Regions from separate parts of the Homo sapiens genome. Here all the other regions are linked to region 4. The links are contacts of gene promoters, found by promoter capture Hi-C in blood cells and fetal thymus (Javierre and others, 2016). All regions are on one chromosome and are shown on one strand. Each heading gives the region's core, a stretch centred on a gene start or on the middle of the fragment in contact. The rest is flanking DNA. Distances are from core to core; before and after follow the strand shown.

Region 1 (2,700 bases), core at 7-2,506, 9.8 Mb before region 4:
TGGGCAACAGGTGGTCTTCCTGTTGTTATTTTATTCCTGCTGTCCTCTGCTCTTTCTATGGCCACTATCTGTTCTACCCTTGGAACTGAAGAGAGATGTTGGTAGGGAAAGACTTTCCCCTTATTTATGGCAGGAAAAGGATGTTCAAGCCCAGTGTGGTGGCTCATGGCTGTAATCCCAGCACTTTGGGAGGATGAGACAGAAGGATTACTTAAGGTCAGGGGTTTGAGTCCAGCCTGGCTGACATGGCAAAATTCCATTTCTACTAAAAATACAAAAATAAGCCAGGCATGGTGGCACATGCCTGTAATCACAGCTACTCTGGGGAAAATAAGGCAGGAGAATTGCTTGAATCCGGAATGTGGAGATTGCAGTGAGCCGAGATTGCACCACTGCACTCCAGCCTGGACATAAGAGCAAGACTCTGTTTGAAAAGAAAAGAAGAGAAGAGAAAGGAAAAGAAAGAAAAGAAGAGAAGAGAAAGGAAATAAAAAGAAAGGAAGAAAAGAAAAGAAAAAAGAAAAGGGATGTTCAGGATTTCATCTTCTGCCATCAGAGCTGCACTTCAATGTGGCAGCTATTGGCCACCTGTGGCTACTGGGTGCATGGAATGTGGCTGGTCTGAACTGCGATGTGGTAGAAAGGTAAAATACATAGTTTTAATTTTTTTTCCAAAATATATATACTTTGTTAATAATTACATACTGGTCACATATTAAAATGATAATATTTTGGATATATTGGGTTAATTAAATTTCTACAATGAATTCCTCCTGTTTTTTTTTCTTTTTAAAATTTTCCTTCTAGAAAATTTAGAATTCACGTGGCTCACATTCAATTTCAGAGGACTGCCTTTTTAAAAAAAAATGTCAGGCTACCCGCTCAAAGGACAAGAAGCCAGGAGCTCATAAAATTGGAAAATTTTAAATAATTGTTATTGCATTATTTTCATGTGTGAATAGCCACATAATATATTATTTATAAAGGCATACGACCTTATACGCAGGGTTATATGCAAATACTCTCTGGTGTGAGCCTGGTCCGTTCAGGGAGGAAGCCCTTCCCTGAGAACCCTGCAGCTTGGATTTCACTCTTTCTACGTTCAGCCCAGCCGCTGAGCACATATTCTGTCACTCAGGGCATTAGGGGGTGGCGCCCTAAACATTATCCAATCAGGGACGCGGGGCTGGGACCCGTCCAATCAGGCACGCAGCTGGAGCGGACAGGACGGCTTCCGGGATTTGGCGGGGCCTTTGTCTCTAGCTGCTGCGGGAGCTCCAGGTCTAGTCTTTACTGCTCTGTGTATTCTGCTCCTAGAGGCCCAGCCTCTGTGACTCCGTTATCTGCAGGTATTGGGAGATGCACAGCTAAGATGCCAGGACCACCTGGAAGCCTAGAAATGGTGAGAGTGCGGTCCGACACCCCGAGAGAGGGGGAGGGGCTGGTTGGAACCGGTCGGAAGTGGCTGTGGCAGGACTCCAGGCTCCAAGCACTGGGCTCCAAAATCCGCGGCCCGAGTTGTCCTTGGCGCAGCTCGGTCCTCAGTCCCCTTCAGCCATAAGATGGCGGCTGGGCTGACAGCCGGACCCCGGGCGTCATGTCTCCTCCCTGCGCAGTGACTGTGCCTTGGCCTGGAGCCCTCGCTGGGCAGCTCTGCACCCGCAGTGCCGCATCTCTGCCGATAACTCGGGGTGCAGGGTTCATAAATGGGAAGCGCTTTGGTCCATGGGGTCCCAGTCCCTCCTTTTTTCTATTAAAAATTCATGGAAGTCACTGCAAATATATTTAAAAATGTAATAGAAGAGTGGTTCAAAAATCGTAGAGCACCCAGCTATGATTTGTAATTTGTGGTCCATGGGAGGGGCTTGAAGGAAAGACTTTTAAGTGGTGTATGATGAATAAAACCAAATTCAATAATCGGTTAGGTACAGTTACATAACTTCTTAATTTGTAAGATCAAAGTGGAAATTTTCTGGTTATGTAATCGGAGGGTACTTGGCAGTTTATAGTTGGTTAAGCAAGAATTTTATTTCCCCCAATGTAATACTTTACAAAAAACAATGTATTTGAGTTAGATTTTTTTTTTTTTTTTTTTGAAACGGAGTCTCGCTCTGTCGCCCAGGCTGAAGTGCAGTGGCACGATCTCGGCTCACTACAACCTCTGCCTCCCGGGTTCAAGTGATTCTCCTGTCTCAGCCTCCCGAGTAGCTGGGATTACAGGCGCCCGCCACCATGCCCGGCTAATTTTTGTATTTTTAGTAGAGACGGGTTTCACCATGTTGGACAGGCTGGTCTTGAACTCCTGACCTTGTGATCTGCCCGCCTCGGCCTCTCAAAGTGCTGGGATTACAGGCGTGAGCCACTGTGCCTAATGTAAATTTTTTTTTTTTTTGAGACGGAGTCTTGCTCTGTCGCCCAGGCTGGAGTGCAGTGGCGCGATCTCGGCTCACTGCAAGCTCCGCCTCCTGGGTTGACGCCATTCTCCTGCCTCAGCCTCCTGAGTAGCTGGGACTACAGGCGCCCGCCACCACGCCTGGCTAATTTTTTTGTATTTTTAGTAGGGACAGGGTTTCACCAAGTTAGCCAGGATGGTCTTGATCTCCTGACCTCGTAATCCACCCGCCTCGGCCTCCCAAAGTGCTGGGATTACAGGCGTCAGCCACCGCGCCCGGCCCTAGTGTACATTTTTGATACTATATT
Region 2 (2,898 bases), core at 360-2,859, 6.8 Mb after region 4:
ACAGTCTAGTTAGAGCAATGAAAGAAAACATGCTCATATGATAAAGGGCTCTGATTGATATAAGCATACAGTGCTCTGGAAGAACAACCACACTAGAGGTGCCTTGGGAGTTTTCCTATTTGATAGGCATAAGAGAGATCTGCAGTCAATAGTGATTAGCTGACCAGTATTGTGGGAATGGATTCACATAACTAGTTAAGAGATTAATTCAGTGTTTTCTTTCCAGCCGGATGTCTACCCTGGAAAGTGCTGGGCTTTTCCAGGTTCCCAGGGTCATACCCTAATCAAGCTTGCTACAAAGATCATACCAACTGCTGTTACCATGGAGCACATCTCAGAGAAGGTGTCTCCGTCAGGAAACATCTCCAGTGCACCCAAGGAATTTTCTGTCTATGTAAGAAGCTATCTAAATTTGTCATTCAGATTGGCCTGATAGAAGGTGGTTGGCTAGGAATTAGGGGCTGTCCTCTGAACTAGGACAGATAACTAGTTGTGTCACTTATTTCCTGGACTTCTGCTTTCTCACCTACAAAGAGAGAGAGTTGGACCAAATGATTTATATTATTATTTTTACTTTTATCAAAGTTATACATGTATAAGTAAAAATCAAATATTTCCATAAAGTTTGTAAAGAAACAGTAATTCCTTGTCCCACTTCTCCACATCTCCAATTCTCATTATCCCAAAGCTTCTACTTGCAACAATTTTAGATGTTTATTTGGGTACTTGCCTCCATGTTGGCTTTTGCCATTATTTCCTGATTTTTCAGTTTTGATTATGACATCCTCTCATTGAAAATGAAGATTAACTCTTTTCCATGGCACTTCCATCTTCCCAAAATATTTATGTCTTAATTTAAAAAACAAAACAGGTTTCTGGAGATGTAATTCCCATAACAATTAATTCACCCATTTAAAGTACACCCTTCAGTGGCTTTTAGTGTATTCACAGAGTTGTGTATCCATCACCATAATCAATTTTAGAACATTTTTCTTACCCTAAAAAGAAACCCCATACCCCTTAGCCGTCACCTCCTATTCCCCTAGTGTACTCCTCCAGCCCCTGGCAACCACTGGTCTACTTTGTCTCAATAAATTTACCTATTCTATACATTTCATATAAATTGAATCATTTATAATGTGTGATCTTTTGTGAATGGCTTCTTTAACTTTGCATACTGTTTTCAAGGTTCATTTATGATGTAGTATGTCTCAATATTTCATTTATTTTTTATTGCTGAATAACATTTCATTGTATGGATATATGACATTTTATTTATCTATTCATCAGTTGATGGACATTTGAATTATTTTCATTTTTTTGGTCATTATGTATAATGCTTCAACAAACATTCATGTACAAGTTTTTGTGTGGACATGAGTTTTTGTTTTCCTTGGGTGTATACCTAAGACTGGAATTCCTAGATAGCATGGTAAATGTAGGTTTAACATTTGAGGCACTGCTAGAAGACTGTATTATCTTTTTGTTCAAGCAATACTCAATGTTTTCACAGTGACTATGTGAACAAAACAGCTCTCAGTTGAGCTATTTAGTGTACTTAAATACTACTTTCTTCCATTTTTTTAAATGTTTCTGAGTGTAATAATTGCTTTACATTTTTTTTTTCTTGAGACAGGGTCTCAGCTCTGTTGCCCAGGTTGGAGAACAATCACAGCTCACTGCAACTTCAAACTCGTGGGATTGTTTTTTAAATTTTTTAGTAGAGATAAGGGTCTTATTATGTTGCCCAGGCTGGTCTCAAACTCCAGGGCTCAGGATCCTCCCGCCTTGGCCTCCCACAGTGCTGGGATTACAGACGTGAGCCACTGGTGCCCAGCCTATTTTTCTTTAATTTGCTTAGTTTTCTGCATTCCTATTACTAAAACTTTCCCAAATTCTTCTTCAGAAGTACAAATATTCCCCCATTATGTTGATTCACATCAGATAACTTATAAATTTCTTCCTTTCTTTATTCCTTCCTTCACTTTCTTTTCATTTATTTTCTTTTTTTTTTCCCAAGATATCCCTCTGGCGCCCTCAGCATTTTGCTCCAGCCTTGTTAGGTAGGCCTGATGCACAACTGTTGTCGTGGGATTTCACTCATGCATCCTGAGGATTCAACTTACTGTCTAATTTATTATTTTTAAAAAGTGTTTCTTCTTTCCCTTTTCTGCTTTTTGTTCCACCTTCTGGAAGATCATATCAATTCACATTTTAACCCCTCTACGGAAATTTTCATTCCTGCTGTCATGATTATACTTTCTGAGACTTCTTGTTTCTATACATATTCCCTTTTTTAGAGCCTATATTTTTTTCTTTTATGAAGGCAGTACCTTCTCTTATGCTTCTGAATATATTAACTGTAGGCTTGTCTCATTTTCTTCTGCTCGCTTCCGGGTCTGGATTTCCTAGCCCCACTTTTCCCCCTTGCGGGTAGCGTCTCTCTGTTTCCTGTACAACACTTTTCTCCCATGTCTGTGATGCTTGTCACATGAATTGCTAGGCGGTGCAAAGCCGGCAGGAAGCTTTGCGCGCACGGTGGGGCTCATCCGTCGTGAGTTTGCAGCGGGAATCATCTGGTCGGGCCATTTCGTCGGGAGTCACAAGTGTGCTATCAGGAGAGCTGACCCTGAGAGGACTCCTGCAGTGCACAGGAGGTGCCAGCCTGGCCCACCACACCATGAGCTGCTGGGGAGAGGAGGGCCGCGGGGTCACCACTTTGTGCAGAGGCCATGCTCTTGTGGGCGGTTCTGGGGCGGCGCCGGCAGTGGTCTTAGAGATGGGAGGAAGAAGAGAGCCCTCTGCTGGGCCAGGCGGGGCTGGAGGGGCGTGGAGGCGTTGTAACTGCTTTTTGAAATGACTGTTAGCTAAGCCGCAGATTTGGGCTCCTTTCCCCCA
Region 3 (2,700 bases), core at 173-2,672, 9.6 Mb before region 4:
GCCAAGATCATGCCACTGCACTCCAGCCTGGGTGACAGAGGAGGCTCCATCTCAAAAAAAACCAAAAAACAAAAAACAAAAGTGCTCAGCCACATACGAGCTGCCTGCCCTTGGAGAGGCCTAAGTTTACTATCCTTCCATTGGCACCATCTGAGGGAGAGTCTGAGTCCAGCTCAGGCAAAACCTCACTGGGCTTTGCAAGCAGACAGCTCTGCAGCTTCATCACTCAGGGAACAGGGACTGGTGGCTGGTGTGGAATCTTCAACATTCATAGGGAAGAGGGGCCTGATACCTCAGCTCACAGAGGCAGCCGTGACGCTCTCATGAGAGGAAGTTTGCCAAGTGCTGAGATCTAAGGGTGTAGTCCTGATTCTCTTCTCCCAAGCCTCAGGATTCTGGTTCCAGCCCTGCCCATCCCAGGCTCACTCCCATCCATATAATCCTTTCTGGCAGGGTTTCCCATCACCAGATAACTGGAAAATGTGTCCAGGATGGAGGCAACACCCTGTGCTGTCGGGTGGTGATGGGGATGACTACTCACTTTTGGGTGTCCCTTCGAGGCCTGTCCCCTGAAATCTCATAATCCCCTGTCTCCTGGACCCTCCTATCCGCATCTTCCACTTGTCCCCCCCTTTAGCTGCAGGAGATCAAAGTTCTCCAGGAGATGCAGCTGCTTCAGCTGGCTGTAGACAATTATCACCTTCAGCCTGTGGAGCAATTTTGGGTCTGCCTCCAGTTAACGGAGTGGCTCAGTGAGACTGAGAGGTGAGGGTCCAGCAGATCGGCAGAGGTTATGGAGAATATTTATTTTGGGCCAGCTGCCAAGAGCCTGTGGCCATGGCTCCCTGGTCAGTGTCAGGCCCTGCTGCATGGTGACCCCGGGGGCCCAGCACTCCAGCTGGGCAGGCACTGGGAAGGAGACTAGGGGTGTGACTCCTACATAGAGACCTCACATCTGCCTCTATGACTTGTAGCTACAACCTGTCCTGCCAGCTGGATCGCTTATCCCAGTAGGCCAGCAACTCCTTAAGGCCATGGAGAACATGCCATGATGAATCTTAGGGGACACTGCCTGGACCAGCAGGAGCGAAGTGCCTTAGGGCTCAGTGACATTTGGGTTAGGCATGGGATCCGGGTGTCAGACAGCTACACTGGGCTTCCAGCTCCACCACTGACCAGCCCTGTGCCTGGGGCAGAGGACTCACTGCTATGGTACTTGAGGCCCCATTGTCATAAATACAATGCACACTGCCAATTCCTTTTTCTCATTTATCTGTTTATTTATAATCAACAGGTACTACTGATCTCTGTTGGTGTTTTTATTGAAAATTAATAAGCATGTGATACATTTTTTATCATTCTTCCTCATGATTTCTTTACTATATGATTCTTCTCATATGTGGTACTTAAGAGTAGTTAAAGTCATAGAAAACACCAAGTAGGAGAGTGTTTCCCAGGGGCTACAGGGAGAATAAGGAGTTGTTTAATGGGTACAGTTTCAGTTTCAAAAAATGGAATATGCTTTTTATATATGGAAATGATGGTAGCAAAATAATGAGTGTACTTAATTCATCTCAATGGAAACCTTTAAAATGGTTAAAATAGTTAATTTTATGTGTATTTTAACATAATGTATAAAATTATTTTAAATTTTTATATTATTTTTTAAGAGACAGAGTCTTGCTCTGTTACCCAGATGGGAGTGCAGGAGTGCAATCATTGCTTCCTGTAGCCTTGAACTTATGGGCTCAACTGATCTTTCTGCCTCAGTCTTCTGAGTAGCTGGAATAGCAGACACATGCCACCGTGCCTGGCTAATTTTTAATTTTTTTGTAGAGAGAGGGTCTCACTCTATTGCCCAGGCTGGTCTAAAATTCCCAGCCACAAGTGATCCTCCCACCTTAACCTCCTAAAATATTTTAGGCTGAGCACGTTGGCTCATGCCTGTAATCTCAGTACTTACATATCTACAGCAGGATTGATGAATATTACAAATATGATGTACAAAAGAAAGTATATGTAAAAGTATACATACTATATAATGTCATTTATGTAAAATCCAAAAAGAATATAAAATTGAGGTTTTGGCTTTCAGTAATAGTGGAGTAGCTTGTTGAACACTACTCTTACAAATAATGGTAAAATCTGGATACAATGTCATATATTATATAGAAACACACATCTATATATCATACATATGATATATGTGGGGATAAGAAGCGAATGATAATTTTAGCTGTGCCCACGGAAAGGGAGACAGGCATTTGAATTTGAATCCAGCCAAATTAACTCCCTCTTCAAAAACTAACAACACTCTTCAAAGGAATACAACAGGATCCAGAGTCTCTATAAGTATTATTTACAGTTTTTAAAATACAATTTTAAAATTTAAGAGACATGAGAAGAAACACAAAAATGTTATCCATACACAAGATAAAACATAGGCATTAAAAGCTATCCCCAAAATGTCCAAGATGTTGTTATCAGCAGTCAAGTATTTGAGAGCAGCTATTAAAACTATAGTCATGGGGTGAAGAAAAAAAATTCTCATAATGAATGAATACATGTGGAATCTCAGCAGAGAAATGCACATTATTAAAAAGAACCAAATAGAAAGATAATGAAATTTTAAATAGTACTTTTAGGTTGATTCATAGATTAGAAAAAGACAGAACAATTGAAATTATTCAATCTGAAAAA
Region 4 (2,869 bases), core at 285-2,784:
GTTATTTGAATGTGGCCTCTCCCAGATTACCTTCTGGTACACATCTCTTTTTGAACCAGATTTTCTTGGATAAGGGGAACCACTGTATGTGTTACTTGATTTTCTGTGTTTTGCTGAAAATACTGTCAACTCAGACATTTGGTGGTTGGGGTGAACTTGCCAACATGTGATTTTATGTTTTTTTGGAATGAATTATTTTTTTGAAAATTATTTATTGAGCATTTACTGTGTTTAGCACTTTACTAGATGCTATATTATACCCACTTGGAGCTTATGGTCTAGTAAGGGGATTTACAGTGTAGGGAGACAGACCGAGGAATAAATAAATAAATGTTAATACAAATGCTATGCAGCAAATGAAGAAGGTATTGTGAAAAAGGAAAAAAGAGCATGAGATAGACAGGATTGCCTTAGATGGTCACTATAGGCCTCTAAGGAGATGACACATGGGCTGAAGTCCCAGGGATGAAGAACTAGTCAAACGCATCTCAGTCTGTTCAGAATTTAAAAGTGACTCTTAAAGCTAAGGCAAGGTATGTGTAGTGTGTATGGACCACCTACAGTCAGATATACGGAGGTGTGTGACCTCTAACCCTGACCCACTGAATCAATATCTGGAGGTTCTGGGGTTACAAATTTCATTTACTAAAAAACTTAACAGGAGATTTCAGTTACTGAAGAAGTTTAAGAAGCACTGAGAGTTGTAACACGTCTTAATGTTCCATCAGCTCTTCCTGAGTTATATTGTTCCTCAGATCCCGTTATGCTCCATTGCTAAAAGGAAACATGGCCGGGCGCGGTGGCTCACGTCTGTAATCCCAGCACTTTGGGAGGCCGAGGCGGGTGGATCGCGAGGTCAGGAGTTCAAGACCAGCCTGGCCAATATGGTGAAACCCCGTCTCTACTGACGGTTTCAGCCATCCGGCGGGGGGTTCCTGGAATGCATCCTTGTGGGTAAGTGGGGAGCTGTGTGTACATTATGACCACTCCCGTAACCAAACCTAGCGTTTGACAAAGGCCTCAATTACAGCGGCATTCATTACCGTGAATGACAGCCAAAGTCAAAGTTTGGGGTGGGGATACTATTTTGAATTAGGCCATAACATTATATTGCTCATAAGCTTCATTTCGACCAACATTATATACATACAAAAAGTATGTACCGTAAGGACACACATCAAGCTGGACCGCAGGAAAAAAAACCACAACTTAGGATTTACCTAGTCAGCCGCTACTAGAGAGCAAGCACCGCGCAAGGCCGCTGGGGCTCGTGCTGTGGACGTGAGTGGGTTGAGGTCGGGCTGGTGGGGTAACCCGGGATCCAGCCGGAAAAAAGGGATAACGCTAGACTCACACTCCTAAGGAAGGCCAACGCCCCAACTAGCGAGCTCCGCAATGCATCTCTTCCAGGAAGCGTGGCCGGGCGCACGTCGCGCTGCGCTTGCGCACTGAGGTTTCGCGTAAGGAACCAATAGGACGGAGGAGTGGGCGGGCTGTTGGCAGAAACCCGGATTCCGGTTCCGGTGGGCCTCCATCAGCAAGCTCCAGTGCTACGTGTCCCTGGCATTTTAGGTGTCGGTTGGGTAGGTGAGTTTCTTCCCACCGGTCGGTACGGGCGAACGGGGCGGCCACACCTTTGCGACTCTTGGGGGCAGCGGGCGTGGGCGAGCCGGCGTGTCTCCCCGGGCGGCCGTCGCGGGGCGGGCGGTAAGTGGTCCCCTGGCTCAGGGCCGGGGTCTGGCCGCCGACATCCCACCAACTCGGCCTCTGGCGGAAGGCAGACCCAGGGCCGCGGACTCCCGGCGAGCTGGGTGGCCGGCCCGCGGGGCTCCAGGGCTTAGCGTCCTGCCCCGGCGTCTTCTGTGCTGCAGCCAAAGATGATGTCCTGCTGCCCGATCCCTTCGGGGTTGGCTCTGTGTGCTGTTGTGGAGTCCTGTCTGGGAAGAGCTGTACTCAGCTCTGGTCCTGCCGCCGCTTCCGTGGTTTAAAGTGAGAGCATTGGTCTAGAGTCTAGTTCGAGAGATCATAGTTGGTTTTTGGATCTCTACCCCTGACATTGAGTGCGGTATTGTGTGTAGCGTGCGTTTTTCTGGATAAAGAATTCTTAGCTTCCTTCGTGACAACTATGATTACAAAAAGTTTAAGCCCTTTGGATTTCAAGAGCAAAGTTGAGTGAAATACTGAGAAAACAGACATTACTGTGTTTTTGCCCCCAGAACGTTGCAGAATTCCTGGTGTTTCATTGACATTATTTCATTTCGTTGTCCACACCCTACACTAAGGAAGGCAACTGGGGCTTACAGAGGTTTACATTCCATAGCCAGTGATTTGAACTACCACCTGGCCACTGTTCTGAGTACTGGAAATGGAGGAAAATACAAATAACACCCTGGCTGCTTTACTTACTATAGCAGTGGCTCTCAAAGCTAAGATCGGATAACATTTCTATTGGGTAATAGATTCCTCAAAAGAACCTGTATGGTAAAATATATAGCCCTGTTTCCTTAAAAGATGTGTTCAAATCGAAAAGTTTGAAATTTAGCTAGTAGCTTCTCAGAATTTGCGTCTTCCTTTAGCCATTCTTTATACTTTAGAAAAGTATGTTGTATTGGCACGTTTTAGAAAAATCAAGGTTGAAATTCACGTTTGCCTCTATTCTAGGCTCTTGCAGCACCGTAGTTGGCATTCACTGTACAAGACACTGGCTTCTGCGTAGTTTAAAATAAAATATGGAAAGTAATTGTTGGATCTCAACACTGATGGTTCCTTAGGAGCGGTGAGGGGACTGTAGAATGAGAAATGGATGGGACTGCAGAGTGAGAAAAGGAATGGATGTGTTACCAATTGCGTAACCTTTTTTAACCTTTTA
Region 5 (2,700 bases), core at 82-2,581, 9.9 Mb before region 4:
TATAAAATACCCTGGAAGACTAACCTAGGAAATACCATTCTAACATAGAAACTGACAGAGATTTCATGACGAAGATGCCAAAAGCAAATGCAACAAAAGCTAAAACTGACAAATAGGATGTAATTAAACTAGCTATTTCACAGCAATGGAAACTATCAACAGACAAACTACAGAATAAAATAAAATATTTGCAAACTATGCTTCTCACAAAGGTCTAATATCCAGCATCCATAAGAAACAAACAAATTTGTAAGAAAAACACAAACAACCTTATTAAAAAGTAGGCAAAAAACATGAACAGATGCTTTTCAAAAGAAGACATACATGTGGCTAAAAAGTAAATTTTAAAAATGCTCTGTCAGGTGCGGTGGCTCATGCCTATAATCCCAGCACTTTGGGAGGCCAAGGCGGGTGGATCACGAGGTCAGGAGTTTGAGACCAGCCTGACCAAGATGGTGAAACCCCATCTCTACTAAAAATACAAAAATTAGCCAGGCACGGTGGCAGGCACCTGTAATCCCAGCTACTCGGGAGGCTGAGGCAGAAGAATCGCTTGAACTCAGGCGGGAGAGGTTGCAGTGAGCCAAGATCGTGCCACTGCACTCCAGCCTGGGCAACAGAGTGTGACTCCATCTCAAATAAATAAATAAATAAATAAATGCTCATCACTAATCATTAGAAAAATGCAGAGAAAAACTACAATGAGATACCATCTCATACCAGTCAGAATGGCTGTTGTTAATAACAGATGCTGGCAAGGTTGAAGGGAAAAGGGAATGCTTGTACACTGCCTGTGGGAATGTAAATTAGTTCAACCATTGTGAAAAGCAGTGTGGTGATTCCTCACAGAACTAGAAACAGAATTACCATTTGACCCAGACACCTCATAATTGGGTTTATACCCAAAGAAATATAAATTATTCTATCACAGAGACACATGCACATGCATGTTCACTGCAGCACTATTCACATAGCAAAGATACGGAATCAACCAAATACCTATCGACGGTAGACTGGATAAAGAAAATATGGTATGGTAGGGCACGGTGGCTCACACCTGTAACCACAGCACTTTCGTAAGCTGAGGCATGCAGATTTGCGGAACTCAAAAGTTCAAAACCAGACTGAGCAATGTGGAAGAACCACGTCTTTACAAAAAATACAAAAAGAAAAATTAGCCGGGCATAATGATACACATCTGTAGTTCCAGCTACTTGGAGGGCTTAGGTAGGAGGATTGCTTGAGCCAGGGAGGTTGAGGCTGCAGTGAGCCAAGATCACACCACTGCACTTCAGCCTGTGTGACAAGATGAGACCCTGTCTCCAAAAATAATTATAATAAAAATAAAATAAAACAAAATATTTAATACAAACAAAATATGATACATAAACATCATGGAATACCATGTGGCCATAAAAAAGAACAAGAGCACGTCCTTTGCAGCAACATGGATAAAGCTGGAGACCATTAGCCATAGAAAACTAATGCAGAATAGAAAACCAAATATATTTTCTCATGTATAAGAGCTAAATAATAAGAACACATGGACACAAAGAGGGGAACAACAGAGGCCTAGCTGAGGGTGGAAGGTGAAAGAACAAAAAGGGTCGCCAGCCGGGCGCGGTGGCTCACTCCTGTAATCCCAGCACTTTGGGAGGCCGAGGCGGGTGGATCACAAGGTCAGGAGATCGAGACCATCCTGGTTAACACGGTGAAACCCCATCTCTACTAAAAAATACAAAAAAAAATTTAGCTGGGCTTGGTGGCGGGCACCTGTAGTCCCAGCTACTCGGGAGGCTGAGGCAGGAGAATGGCCTGAACCCGGGAGGCAGAGCTTGCAGTGAGCAGAGATCGCGCCGCTGCACTCCAGCCTGGGCAACAGAGCGAGACTCTGCCTCAAAAAAAAAAAAAAAAAAAAGAACAAAAAGGATCAAAAAAATACTTGTTTGGTGCTATGCTTAGTATCTCAGCGATAAAATAATCTGCACACGAAACCACCCTGACACAATTTTACCTATATAACAAACTGCATGTGTACTCCAAAACAGAAATAAAAGTTAAAAGGAAAAAAATCCATGGGTGGGGGAGAATGCCATGTAGGTGGGAGGAATGGTCTGTGCTACAGATAGTGGCCCAGATGGGGCTGTCCTCTGATTTATTTGCGTCCATGCAGGCAGATGAGATTATGAACAGGTGGTCCAGAATCCTTGGTTGGTGGAGAGAGCAGGCTGCTGCTGCAGATTCAGTGTCTGGGAATAGGAATATGTCAGGAGACTTGTAGACACTTTGGTGGGTTTTTGGCAAAAAACACTAGAATAAAAAAATGCTGTAGTGAAATTCCTAAGGGCGGTGCCTAGTCCTGGGAGGGGTGTGGACACATCAATGTATAATGGGTATGTTTGTGAGTGGGTGGAAATTCTGGGATGGCAGCTGCGAGAAAAGGGGGTCTATAATCAGACCTCCTTTCCTCTAAGTTTTCAGTCCTCTCTCACCATGGAAGGAGACCTGGAATCACAGGACAATGGGCAGTGTGACAGTCTGTGTACAGGAGGGTAGAGCGTCGCATTCCCAGACACCCAGAGTTCCACTCCAGGCCAGGCCTCTGTGATATCTTTCTTTTGGCACCAAATCTGTAAAGTTTGCTTAACACCAAGCAATTCTCCAAAACTAACACATTGTTTAACATTTGAATTCTGACCC

What was found. The method cuts DNA at HindIII sites, captures the fragments that hold promoters and counts their contacts. A CHiCAGO score of 5 or more calls a contact.
Region 1: a contact is called between the fragment with the promoter of ZNF680 here and the fragment with the promoter of SEC61G in region 4, in 1 of 17 cell types (activated CD4 T cells). The highest score is 5.8, in activated CD4 T cells.
Region 2: a fragment that was not itself captured here is called in contact with the fragment with the promoter of SEC61G in region 4 in 7 of 17 cell types (naive CD4 T cells, total CD4 T cells, naive CD8 T cells and 4 more); the score reaches 10.6 in naive CD4 T cells.
Region 3: a fragment that was not itself captured here is called in contact with the fragment with the promoter of SEC61G in region 4 in 4 of 17 cell types (naive CD8 T cells, activated CD4 T cells, non-activated CD4 T cells and 1 more); the score reaches 15.9 in naive CD8 T cells.
Region 5: a fragment that was not itself captured here is called in contact with the fragment with the promoter of SEC61G in region 4 in 3 of 17 cell types (total CD4 T cells, total CD8 T cells and naive CD8 T cells); the score reaches 23.4 in total CD4 T cells.

What each region holds. Positions count from the first base shown.
Region 1 is chr7:64,561,627-64,564,326 of GRCh38, reverse strand. It overlaps ZNF680 (zinc finger protein 680), which reads left to right and starts at 1,256. Exons shown (of 4, transcript NM_178558.5): 1 at 1,256-1,402. The coding sequence starts at 1,373. RefSeq lists a silencer at 1,098-1,207 and an enhancer at 1,308-1,667. The HindIII fragment of the contact is 20,565 bases long and covers 1-2,700 here.
Region 2 is chr7:47,991,811-47,994,708 of GRCh38, reverse strand. SUN3 (Sad1 and UNC84 domain containing 3) reads left to right here. Exons shown (of 10, transcript NM_001030019.2): 8 at 227-394. Among named protein-coding and RNA genes, the nearest start is that of HUS1, 14 kb to the right of the region's middle. RefSeq lists an enhancer at 2,535-2,764. The HindIII fragment of the contact is 1,837 bases long and covers 691-2,527 here.
Region 3 is chr7:64,309,038-64,311,737 of GRCh38, reverse strand. It overlaps LOC105375322 (a long non-coding RNA gene), which reads left to right and starts at 1,262. Exons shown (of 5, transcript XR_927582.2): 1 at 1,262-2,700. The HindIII fragment of the contact is 9,634 bases long and covers 1-2,700 here.
Region 4 is chr7:54,757,876-54,760,744 of GRCh38, reverse strand. It overlaps SEC61G (SEC61 translocon subunit gamma), which reads left to right and starts at 1,534. Exons shown (of 4, transcript NM_014302.4): 1 at 1,534-1,587. SEC61G-DT (SEC61G divergent transcript) reads right to left here and starts at 1,432. Exons shown (of 3, transcript NR_110040.1): 1 at 1,221-1,432. RefSeq lists an enhancer at 396-1,331 and a silencer at 1,565-1,884. The HindIII fragment of the contact is 2,422 bases long and covers 1,124-2,869 here.
Region 5 is chr7:64,670,998-64,673,697 of GRCh38, reverse strand. All of the region lies in intron 1 of ZNF107 (zinc finger protein 107), which reads right to left. Among named protein-coding and RNA genes, the nearest start is that of ZNF107, 6.2 kb to the right of the region's middle. The HindIII fragment of the contact is 4,936 bases long and covers 1-2,700 here.